Linked DNA regions of Homo sapiens: region 1 is linked to region 2. Evidence: promoter capture Hi-C in 16 types of primary human blood cells and fetal thymus (Javierre and others, 2016). All regions are on one chromosome and are shown on one strand. The core of a region is centred on a gene start or on the middle of the fragment in contact, and the rest is flanking DNA. Distances in the headings are between cores, read along the strand shown. Region 1 holds the start of AKR1A1 (aldo-keto reductase family 1 member A1). Region 2 holds the start of MUTYH (mutY DNA glycosylase).

Region 1 (5,002 bases), core at 1,793-4,292, 210 kb after region 2:
ATGCCCAGCTAATTTTTGTATTTTTAGTATTGATGGGATTTCACCATGTTGGCCAGGCTGGCCTCGAACTCCTGACCTCAGGTGATTGGCCCGCCTCGGTCTCCCAAAGTCCTGGGATTACGGGTGTGAGCCACCACACCTGGCCTGTTTGTTTTTAGACAGGGTCCTTGGTAAAAAGAATTTGAGGGGAAAAAAAAAAAGAGACAAGGTTTTGCTCTGTTGTCTAGGCTGGAGTAGAATGGCACAATCATGACACACTACAGCCTCGAAGACCTGGGCTCCAGCAATCCTCCCACTTCAGTCTCCTAAACACCTGGGACTATAGGTGTGCACCACCGTGCCCAGCTAATTTTTATATTTTTTGTAGAGATGAGGTTTCACTATATTGCCCAGGCTGGTCTTGAACTACTAGGCTCAAGTGATCCTCCCTTCTTAGTCTTCCACAGTGCCGGGATTACAGCCATGAGCTACTGTGCCTGGCCTGTAGGTTCTTCTTTTACGTATTTTTTTTTTTTTGAGACGGAGACTTGCTCTGTCACCCAGGCTGGAGTGTAGTGGTGCGGCTCACTGCAACCTCTGCCTCCTGGGTTCAGGCGATTCTCCTCCCTCAACCTCCTGAGTAGCTGGGACTGCAGGCGCGTGCCACCATGCCCAGCTAATTTTTGTATTTTTAGTAAAGACGGGGTTTCACCATATTGGCCAGGCTGGTCTCGAACTCTTGACCTCGTGATCTGCCCGCCTTGTGCTGGGATTACAGGCGTGAGCTACTGCGCCCGGCCCCTTTTTTTTTGAGACAGAGTTTTGCTCTTGCTGCCCAGGCTAGAGTGCAATGGCACAATCTTGCCAAACGCAACCTCTGCCTCCTGGGTTCAAGTGATTCTTCTGCCTCAGCCTCCTGAGTAGCTGGGATTACAGGGATGTGCCACCTCACCTGGCTAATTTTGTATTTTTAGTAGAGATGGGGGTTCTCCATGTTGGTCAGGCTGGTCTCGAACTCCTCACCTCAGGTGATCTGCCTACCTCGGCCTCCCAAAGTGCTGGGATTACAGGCGTGAGCCACCATGCCTGGCCTATTTTATTTTTTTTTGAATACAGGCTGGAGTGCAGTGGCGCGATCTCAGCTCACTGCAACCTCCGCCTCCCTGGTTCAAGTGATTCTGTTGCCTCAGGCTCCCAAGTAGCTGGGATTACAGGCTCGCATCAATACATCCAGCTAATTTTTTTTTTTTTTTTTTTTTTTTTTTTTTTTTGAGGGGCAGTCTCGCTTTGTCAAGAGGCTAGAGTGCAGTGGCTCGATCTCGGCTCACTGAAACCTCCGCCTCCCGGGTTCAAGCGATTCTCCTGCCTCAGCGTCCTGAGTATCTGGGACTACAGGTGCGCGCCACGACGCCTAGCTGAATTTTTTTTTTTTTTTTTTTTGAGATGGAGTTTCACTCTTGTTGCCCAGGCTGGAGCGCAATGGCGCAATCTCAGCTCACCACAACCTCCGCCTCCCAGGTTCAAGCAATTCTCCTGCCTCAGCCTCCCGAGTAGCTGGGATTACAGGCATGTGCCACCACGCCCGGCTAATTTTGTATTTTTAATAGAGACGGGGATTCTCCATGTTGGTCAGGCTGGTCTCTAACTCCTGACCTCAGGTGATCCGCCTGCCTCGGCCTCCCAGAGTGCTGGAATTACAGGCGTGAGCCACCGCACCCGGCCAAGTCTGATTGTTTTTATGAGGATGGCCTGATACATTAGACATTTGGTCCACCAGGACATCACTTATGTTGGGGAGACAGTGGGGGATAACGGGGGTGGGGAAATGGGAAGAGTTGCTCTCAGGGAGTAAAGGTGTGGGGAAAAGCAGAGCCAAACCGAGATAACCCTGTGTCTTGCCCATCCCTGCCAAGGAAAACACATACATGCAAGACACCTCTCCACTCAAACAGCACAGACTATTTCAAATCGCAGATGTGTCATTTAATTAATACCTGTGTGACTTTGGGAAAATTATAAATAGCCTTAACCTTGCTGAGTCTGTCCAATCTGTAAAATGGATTATGAATACTTTCCTCACAGGCTTATGGTGTGCTGGTAATATCTTCCTCTGGATGGCAGTTACATTGCAAAAAATAATTTAAAAAAAAGAACTGTATACATTTAAGATTTATACATTTTCTTTCTTCCTGGATGTAGAATAGGAAAAAAAGAAAAAGAAAAAAAAAAAGACTGGTGTATTTTCTGTATATATGCTATACTACGATTTTTAAAAAGGCTTGTACGAAATAAAAGAATATTCCTTTTCGGCCAGGCGCAGTGGCTCACTCCTGTAATCCCAGCACTTTGGGAGTCCAGGGCGGGTGGATCACGAGGTCAGGAGTTCAAGACCAGCCTGGCCAAGATGGCGAAACCCCGTCTCTACTAAAAAATACAAAAAAATTAGCCAGGCGTGGTATCGGGCGCCTGTAATCCCAGCTACTCGGGAGGCTGAGGCAGAGAATTGCTTGAACCAGGGAGGCGGAGGTTGCAGTGAGCCAAGATCGCGCCACTGCACTCCAGCCTGGGCGAGAGCGAGATTCCGTCTCAAAAAAAAAAAAAAAAAAGGAATATTCCTTTTCCAGGATTATTATGAAGATTCAATAAAACCATGTTTATTAAGTGTTAAGCACAGTGCCTGGCACATAACGTGCTGGGCGGGGTCTATGGTCCAGACAGGGGGACCAGGCACTTTCCAGCGCCTGGATCTGCAGACGCGAGGTCTTCTGTATTCTGGCCAATCTTGGTGTTGCAGCTGCTCTCTGGGCCTCAGTTTGCTTGAACTAAATGTAACGGGGCCAACTTAGGTGAACTTTGGGAATCCAGCCAACCTGACTTTAGGGAGAGTATGGAGCCACGGATGGCATTGTGAATCCGGAGGGCCGACACCAGAAGAACCTGCAACGTGGCATCTGCTACCTTACTTCCCCCGGAAAAGCGCCTGCGGCGGCGCCTAGGCGCGCGGTGCAATGTGGGCCAGCAAAAGGCGAGGCTGGCCCCGCCCCTTGCACCGCCCACGTGGCCAGCGCCACCTGCCTCATTGTGCCCAGGAGTTCTCCAAACCCGCGCTGCGGAGTGAGTGACCAAGTTCCGGCCAGTTCGACCTCGAGGATCCAGAGGTGGAGACGGTACTACCTCCCAGCTCTGTTTTCCATCCCCTTCAGGTCCTTCCTCGGGAGGCGGCGAAGGCGGTCCACCCTGCGCGTGATCCTTTATGCCCGGCCCCTGCCCCTCCCTCCGGGTGGAACTTCCCCCTCACCGCCAGACTTAAGCTGAGGATCGTTGGATCTCTGGCGGGGTGCAGAACTGAGCCCAGGCCACAGTACCCTATTCACGCTCTGTGCTTGTGCCAAGGTGAGTTTCTCTTGCTGCTGGCCTATCTTTCTCCCGGAGGAGATGGCCTCGATTCTTTACTACTGAAATGTAAGCCCCTGGGGTTGAGTGGAGAGCGCAGAGCACTGGAGGGGACGAGACTTGGTTTCGGATTTGAGCTCTTCTTTTTCTCTGTATGATCTCTTGCTAACTTCCCAGTTTCTCTGAACCTGTTTCCTCAGCAATAAAATGAGGTCCTACATTAGAACTGTAGCAAGAATTGAGATAAAGCTTTGAAGGCGCACAGCGCATACTAGGTGATCTGCAAGTTTTAATTGCCATCTTTTTGTTTGCTCACCTATGTGCTTTTTCCAGCTGCTCCGGCTTTCTTATGCAGGTGCAGGGATAGTTCTCAGAAGTGGGGAGAAGTGGGGATAATTCTCTTACTTAGACACCTGCTTTGGGTCTGAGAAAGTCTGACATGTTATTCTGTTGCCCCAGAACTCTGTTAAAGTAAGACACAGATCTGAACCTTCACTGGATGAGGCTACTGTTAATTAACTCTTCCCCTTCAGATCGTTCATACTCAGGGCTGCAGGCCTGTTACTTTTCCAAGATCTGTTTCCTTATCTTTAATACAGGAGCAATCTCAGTATGATTCTATCTGGTCCACTGGGATTTTTTGCCGAGTATAGTAAAGTGCTTTGATATTCTCCAAGAGGATTCTTTTCAGGTTTTCCAACAGGTAAAGGAAGAAGGTGACAGAGGCAGCGACTTCCTCAAATGTCCTTCCAGCTGGCCAAACTCAACCTGTCAAGATCTCTCCCCCATAAGCTGTGTGTGTGTGGTGTGTGTATTGTGTACATTGTATGTATGTATGTATGTATGTATGTATGTATGTATGTATGGGACAGGTACTCTAGGAGTGAGGGGTTCAGGCAGATGACAGGCTCAGACCTCAAGGAGTAGCCAGGTTTGTGGGGGAAATTTATATATAAACAGAAAAATGTAGTGATGTGCACATGCTATCAGTACATGGAAGTAGCCATCCATTTATTTATTTATTTATTTTCTTTTTAGAGATGGATGGGGGTCTCTCGGTCTTTTGCCCATGCTGGAGTGTAGTGGTGGAATCCTTGCTCAGTGCAGCCTCAAACTTCTGGGCTCAAATAATCCTGCCACCTCAGCCTTTGGACTATAAACTACATGCCACTGTGCCCAGTTAATCTTTAAAATAAAAAAAAAAAAATTCCCCCTAGCAAGCAGACTCAGAAAGAAAAAAACAAATTTTTGTAGAGACAGTGTTTCCTTTTGTTGCCCAGGTTTCAAGTGATCCTCCCGCCTCAGCCTGCCCAGGTGCTGAGATTACATGTATGAGCCACTGCACCTGGAAAGGAGCCAGAAATGTGAAGTGCTAGCTGAAGGATGAGCAGCAGCTAGCCAGGCAAAGGTAGGGTTTGGGGAAGGAAAGTGCACACACCTAGAGTCAGGTAAGTGATGTGACCCTGTTGAGTGTTCAAAGTCTGGAATACAGTCTGACATGAGGAGGTGGTGAAATGAGAAAGATAGAAGCCAGGTTTTGAGAAGCCTGGACTTTATCCTGAATATAGGGGAGAATTGCTGGAAGGGTTTGAGACTGGGAGTCACATGGTTGGATCTGGTGATGGACTGC
Region 2 (5,479 bases), core at 285-2,784:
TCTTGACTGAAATGTCCAAATCAGGTCCCCTCATCTTATCCTATCACATATTTCTGCCTTGTAGCTCTTACCTAATGTAATTTTACATTACTTTGATTCTTTCCATCAGTGTGTACTTCCTGAATTTGACTGTAAAAAACGACTTGAGTGCAAGGACTGATTCTCTTGTTGATTGGTGTGTGTCCAAAGTCAGTGCCAGGTAAACTGTACACAATAGATACCTGTTAAATGAATTAATGGGATGGGGGATAGTCAAAAGAGTTTCCCTTTTTTAGGATAGGAGAAATCCAAAGAGTTTTTTTATTTTTGTTTTTTTTTTGTTTGTTTGTTTTGTTTTTAGAGACAGTGTGTCCCTCACTTTGCTGCTCTGCCACTCAGGCTGGAGTGCAATAAGAACATGGCTCACTGCAGCCTCGACCTCCTGGGCTCAAGCCATCCTCTCACCTCAGCCTCCTGTAGCTGGGACTACAGGTGCGCACCACCATGCCCAACTAATTTTTAATTTTCTTTTTGTAGAGACAAGGTTTCACTATGTTGCCCAGGCTAGTCTTGAACTCCTAGGGTCAAGCGATCCTCCCACCTTGGCCTCCTAAGATGATTACAGGCCATAAGCCACTGCGCCCGGCCCAAGCAGTTCTGAATAATGATGAAATGGGCTCAGTTGAGAGAAGCTGAAGATTAACTATAAACAATGAGTAACAAAGGAGCACTGGAAGGCAGAGGTGGATGGGAATCGTAGTGTTTACGGAGGGACTAGTCTCCAATAGGAATTTTTTTTTTTTTTTTTTTTTTGAGACGGAGTTTCGCTCTTGTTGCCTAGGCTGAAGTGCAAAATGGCGTGATCTCGGCTCACCGCAACCTCTGCCTCCCAGGTTCAAGCGATTCTCCTGCCTCAGCCTCCCAAGTAGTGGGATTACAGGCGCCCGCACCATACCCAGCTAATTTTTTTTGTACTTTTAGTAGAGACGGGGTTTCACCATGTTGGCCAGGCTGGTTTTGAACTCCGGACCTCAGGTAATCCGCCCGCCTCGGCCTCCCAAAGTGCTGGGATTACAGGCGTGAGCCACCGCGCCCGGCCTAGGAACCTCTTTCAAATTCAATCACCCTCTAGGTCGACTATACCGCCTAGCTGCTTCACAATTTGTCCCTTCCTCGCCATCCATACTGCCAGCCTTAATTCAAGTTCACATTATCACTTGATTGGATTATTACAAAAGCTTCCCTACCAATCGGTCGCTCTTACACCCTGGGCAGCCTCCTCCGATGGCCCACTCCCCGCCTCTTTCACTTTCTGGAGATCACTGAGCTCTCCATCCTCTCTGGGAATTTACCGATGCCCAGAACGCCCTTCTTTCCCCCACACGACCCTCTCCTAGTCTAACTCCTGGGCGTGCTTTAAGCTCAGCTCAGGCAGCGTCACCTTCTCTGGAAAGCCCAAACCCAGCCACCCCACTACCCGCTACCCGCGGCCCACGCTGATGAAGACAGCAGAACACGGAGGCCCCGCGTTCCCGCCGCGAGAGCAGGAGAGAAAGATTACCTCCCGCGAGCTCTAGCGCGCCCGGCTTTCCGGCGCACTCCAGGGGGCGTGGCTCGGGTCCACCCGGGCTGCGAGCCGGCAGCACAGGCCAATAGGCAATTAGCGCGCGCCAGGCTGCCTTCCCCGCGCCGGACCCGGGACGTCTGAACGGAAGTTCGACCCATCGGCGACCCGACGGCGAGACCCCGCCCCATCCCCGACTGCCTGAACCGCGCCAGGAGACGGACCGCAAGTCCAGCGTACCCACAGACGACTCAGGCGGGAGACGAGCGGTGTCATGGCCGCCGACAGTGACGATGGCGCAGTTTCAGCTCCCGCAGCTTCCGACGGTGAGCGGCTTCCCAGAGGTAGCCTTCAAAGCCTCTGCGCTCTGGGAGAGGGGAAGGCCTCGGGCTCATAGTTCTAGAGGCTCCTCAAGCTTCAGAGGACTGCTCCTTCCGCCTGAACTAGCCACGAGGAGACTACAAGTTCCGTTGTACACCGCGGCTCCGGCTGCAAAAGCCTGGAGCGTTGGGAGCATGGGGCTGATGGAGGCATGGCGGGAGATGTAGTCTGGAGCTCATAACGGTTAGTAGTAATAGTTGTGATTCAGTTCAGTGGAGTGGATTGAGCGTTGTGATCCAAAGGAAGGTAGGACGTATTGGGAGCTCTGGTGTGGGGCACTGCCAGGCTCTGGGGCTTACTGGGAGCTGTTGCTTGTGGCGCTGGGGCACCATGAGAACAGTAGTATGGATCCCTGTGGGATATTAAGGGAGCTGAGATCCTCAAGCCCTACAAAATGTTTCCTGCAGGACATGGGAAAAAAGAATCAAAGGTCGTCTAGTCCAACTTTCTCCTCTACAGATTGTGAAAGCGAGGTGGGAAGTAATTTACCCAGGCTCATACAAGCCAGTAGAAGACTCAGGCTTCCTCTCCCCAAATTCAGGGCATTCTCCACTCCAAGGCCTGTGTGTAGAACACGTGGGTTACAAAGGCTTGTGGGAAAAGCTACCAATGGAAACTACCCCCCTTACCACCATCACCGTGGCCTAGCTTGGTGTCTGTTCCCCTGGGCTCTTTCCTTAAGCATGAACATCCATCACCCTCCTAACCCCCAGGTGGTGTCAGCAAAAGCACAACATCTGGGGAGGAGCTAGTAGTCCAGGTTCCCGTAGTGGATGTGCAAAGCAACAACTTCAAGGAGATGTGGCCATCCCTCCTGCTAGCCATAAAGACAGCTAATTTCGTGGCTGTGGACACGGTGAGAGTTGGGAAACAAGGAGGGCAGGTGGTTGTGAAGGGGCTGGTGCTAGAGGCCTGTCACAACTCTCCCTTTACCTACCCACAGGAGCTGAGTGGGCTTGGGGACAGGAAGAGTTTGCTGAACCAGTAAGTATAAGCCCTTTTCTCTTTAGTGCCAGCCCTCAACTGTGGAGTGGGGGGGTCACAGACCTGGGTGGTTTGGGTCCTTCATAAGGCTAACTCCTAGCCACAGCAACCCCCATACCCAACCCCAAGGTGCATTGAGGAACGTTACAAGGCCGTGTGTCATGCTGCCAGGACCCGTTCTATCCTTTCCCTGGGCCTCGCCTGCTTCAAGCGGCAGCCAGACAAGGTATGAGCTGATCTCACCCCAATCCTAGGTGTGGCTGTGGGGTGGAGGGTAGAGAGATTCTAGGGAACATCAGATAGGAAGCATTTCTCTCCCAAATCTTTTTTTTTGACTTGATAGTTTTTTTTTTTTTATTTGAATAGGTTTATGGGGAACAGGTGGTGTTTGGTTAAATGAGTAAGTTCTTTAGTGGCAATTTCTGAGATTTTGGTGCACCTATCACCCAGTGTACACTGTGCCCAATGCGTAGTCTTTTATCCCTCACCTGCCTCCATCCTTTCCCCCCTGAGTCCCCAGAGTCCATTGTATCATTCTTAAGCTTTTGCATCCTCCTAGCTTGGCTCTCTGAAATCTTGATATAGCAGACTTCTCTTTCTCCCAGGGTGAACATTCCTATCTGGCTCAAGTGTTCAATCTCACTCTGCTGTGCATGGAGGAGTATGTCATAGAACCAAAGTCTGTGCAGTTCCTGATACAGCATGGCTTCAACTTCAACCAGCAGTATGCCCAAGGCATCCCCTACCATAAGGGCAATGACAAGGTAGGCCTCTAGCCTCCCTAGCCTTGAGTCTGCCCTTTCTGTGACTTTATTTCTTCCTACCCTAGGCTGGATGTCTGGGGAGAATCTGCTTCTTAGGGAGTATGGGGAATCACTAGTGACAGGGCTTGGGAAACAAGACTGGTATGAGGAGGGTGGGCAGCATTGGGTAAGGTAGAGAGAGAGCGTTCCAAGTGGGGAAGTCTGGGATAAGTGCCCAGCAGAAGAGGCTCCCTGGGGGACTCTGTCCTCCTCATTGACCCCTTTACTTTCATCTAGGGTGATGAGAGCCAGAGCCAGTCAGTACGGACCCTATTCCTGGAGCTAATCCGAGCCCGCCGGCCCCTGGTGCTACACAATGGCCTTATAGACTTGGTGTTCCTGTACCAGAACTTCTATGCACACCTCCCTGAGAGTCTGGGAACCTTCACCGCTGACCTGTGTGAGATGTTCCCAGCAGGCATTTATGACACCAAATATGCTGCTGAGTTTCATGCCCGTTTCGTGGCCTCCTACTTAGAATATGCCTTCCGGAAATGGTGAGGAAATGGTTGAGGGAAAGGGGTGGGGCCTGATACGAGTTTATTTCATTCACTTAAGATATTTATTGAGCTCCTACCATGTGCCCAGGCAGTGTTTTAGGTGCTGAGGATTCAGCAGTGAACAAAACAGACCACAAAACCCTGCTCTTATGGAGCTTATATGCTAGTGGACCATTACCCTCTTGCGCTGTTGCAGTGAACGGGAAAATGGGAAGCAGCGGGCAGCTGGCAGCCCACACCTTACCCTGGAGTTCTGCAACTATCCTTCCAGCATGAGGGACCATATTGATTACCGCTGCTGCCTGCCCCCAGCAACCCACCGTCCTCATCCCACCAGCATCTGTGACAACTTCTCGGTGAGAGCACCCACCTGTTTCTTGGGAGGGAAGGTTCTGATGCCTGGAGCCTCTTTCTAAGCCTCTTTCCCACCCCTAGGCTTATGGCTGGTGCCCCCTGGGACCACAGTGTCCTCAGTCTCACGATATTGACCTTATCATTGACACTGATGAGGCTGCGGCAGAGGACAAGCGGCGACGGCGACGACGTAGGGAAAAACGGAAGAGGGCTTTATTGAACCTACCGGGGACACAGACCTCTGGGGAAGCTAAGGATGGTCCTCCCAAGAAGCAGGTCTGTGGGGATAGCATCAAGCCTGAAGAAACCGAGCAGGAGGTGGCTGCCGATGAAACTAGGAACCTGCCTCACTCCAAGCAAGGCAACAAAAATGACTTAGAGATGGGGATTAAGGCAGCAAGGCCTGAAATAGCTGATAGAGCTACCTCAGAAGTGCCAGGGAGCCAAGCCAGTCCTAACCCAGTGCCTGGGGATGGATTGCACCGGGCTGGTTTTGATGCCTTTATGACAGGTTATGTGATGGCCTATGTGGAAGTGAGCCAGGGACCGCAGCCCTGCAGCTCTGGACCCTGGCTCCCTGAATGCCACAATAAGGTATATTTGAGTGGCAAAGCTGTACCCCTCACAGTGGCCAAGAGCCAGTTCTCTCGTTCCTCCAAAGCCCACAATCAGAAGATGAAGCTCACTTGGGGCAGTAGCTGATGCAACTTCCACCTTGCTCTCAGGTGGAACAGAGGTATTTTGGGTCTCTCTAGCCTGAAATGTCATCCTCAACTGCTACTGAGTTTAGGGGAGGGGGAATGTCTTGACAGACATCACTGCATTGCCCTGGACCGCCTCCTTTATCCCAGTGTTTGAGGTACAAGTAAGAAGGCTGACCAGCACCTGTAACACTGACTTTATTTTTAAGTCTG

Evidence for each region. Contacts are between HindIII fragments. The CHiCAGO score rates a contact against its expected background, and 5 or more counts as called.
Region 1: the fragment with the promoter of AKR1A1 here is called in contact with the fragment with the promoter of MUTYH in region 2 in 13 of 17 cell types (naive B cells, naive CD4 T cells, total B cells and 10 more); the score reaches 8.6 in naive B cells.

Annotation. Positions count from the first base shown.
Region 1 is chr1:45,547,784-45,552,785 of GRCh38, forward strand. AKR1A1 (aldo-keto reductase family 1 member A1) reads left to right here and starts at 3,043. Exons shown (of 9, transcript NM_153326.3): 1 at 3,043-3,372. RefSeq lists enhancers at 2,726-2,785, 2,836-3,065, 3,296-3,515. The HindIII fragment of the contact is 4,529 bases long and covers 1-3,619 here.
Region 2 is chr1:45,338,436-45,343,914 of GRCh38, forward strand. It overlaps MUTYH (mutY DNA glycosylase), which reads right to left and starts at 1,535. Exons shown (of 16, transcript NM_001048174.2): 1 at 1,464-1,535. TOE1 (target of EGR1, exonuclease) reads left to right here and starts at 1,735. Exons shown (of 8, transcript NM_025077.4): 1 at 1,735-1,869; 2 at 2,638-2,780; 3 at 2,868-2,908; 4 at 3,038-3,134; 5 at 3,514-3,672; 6 at 3,949-4,208; 7 at 4,408-4,567; 8 at 4,647-5,479. The coding sequence starts at 1,818. The coding sequence ends at 5,267. TESK2 (testis associated actin remodelling kinase 2) reads right to left here. Exons shown (of 11, transcript NM_007170.3): 11 at 5,448-5,479. RefSeq lists enhancers at 1,057-1,724, 1,725-2,393, 1,746-2,095, 2,394-3,060. The HindIII fragment of the contact is 741 bases long and covers 1,216-1,956 here.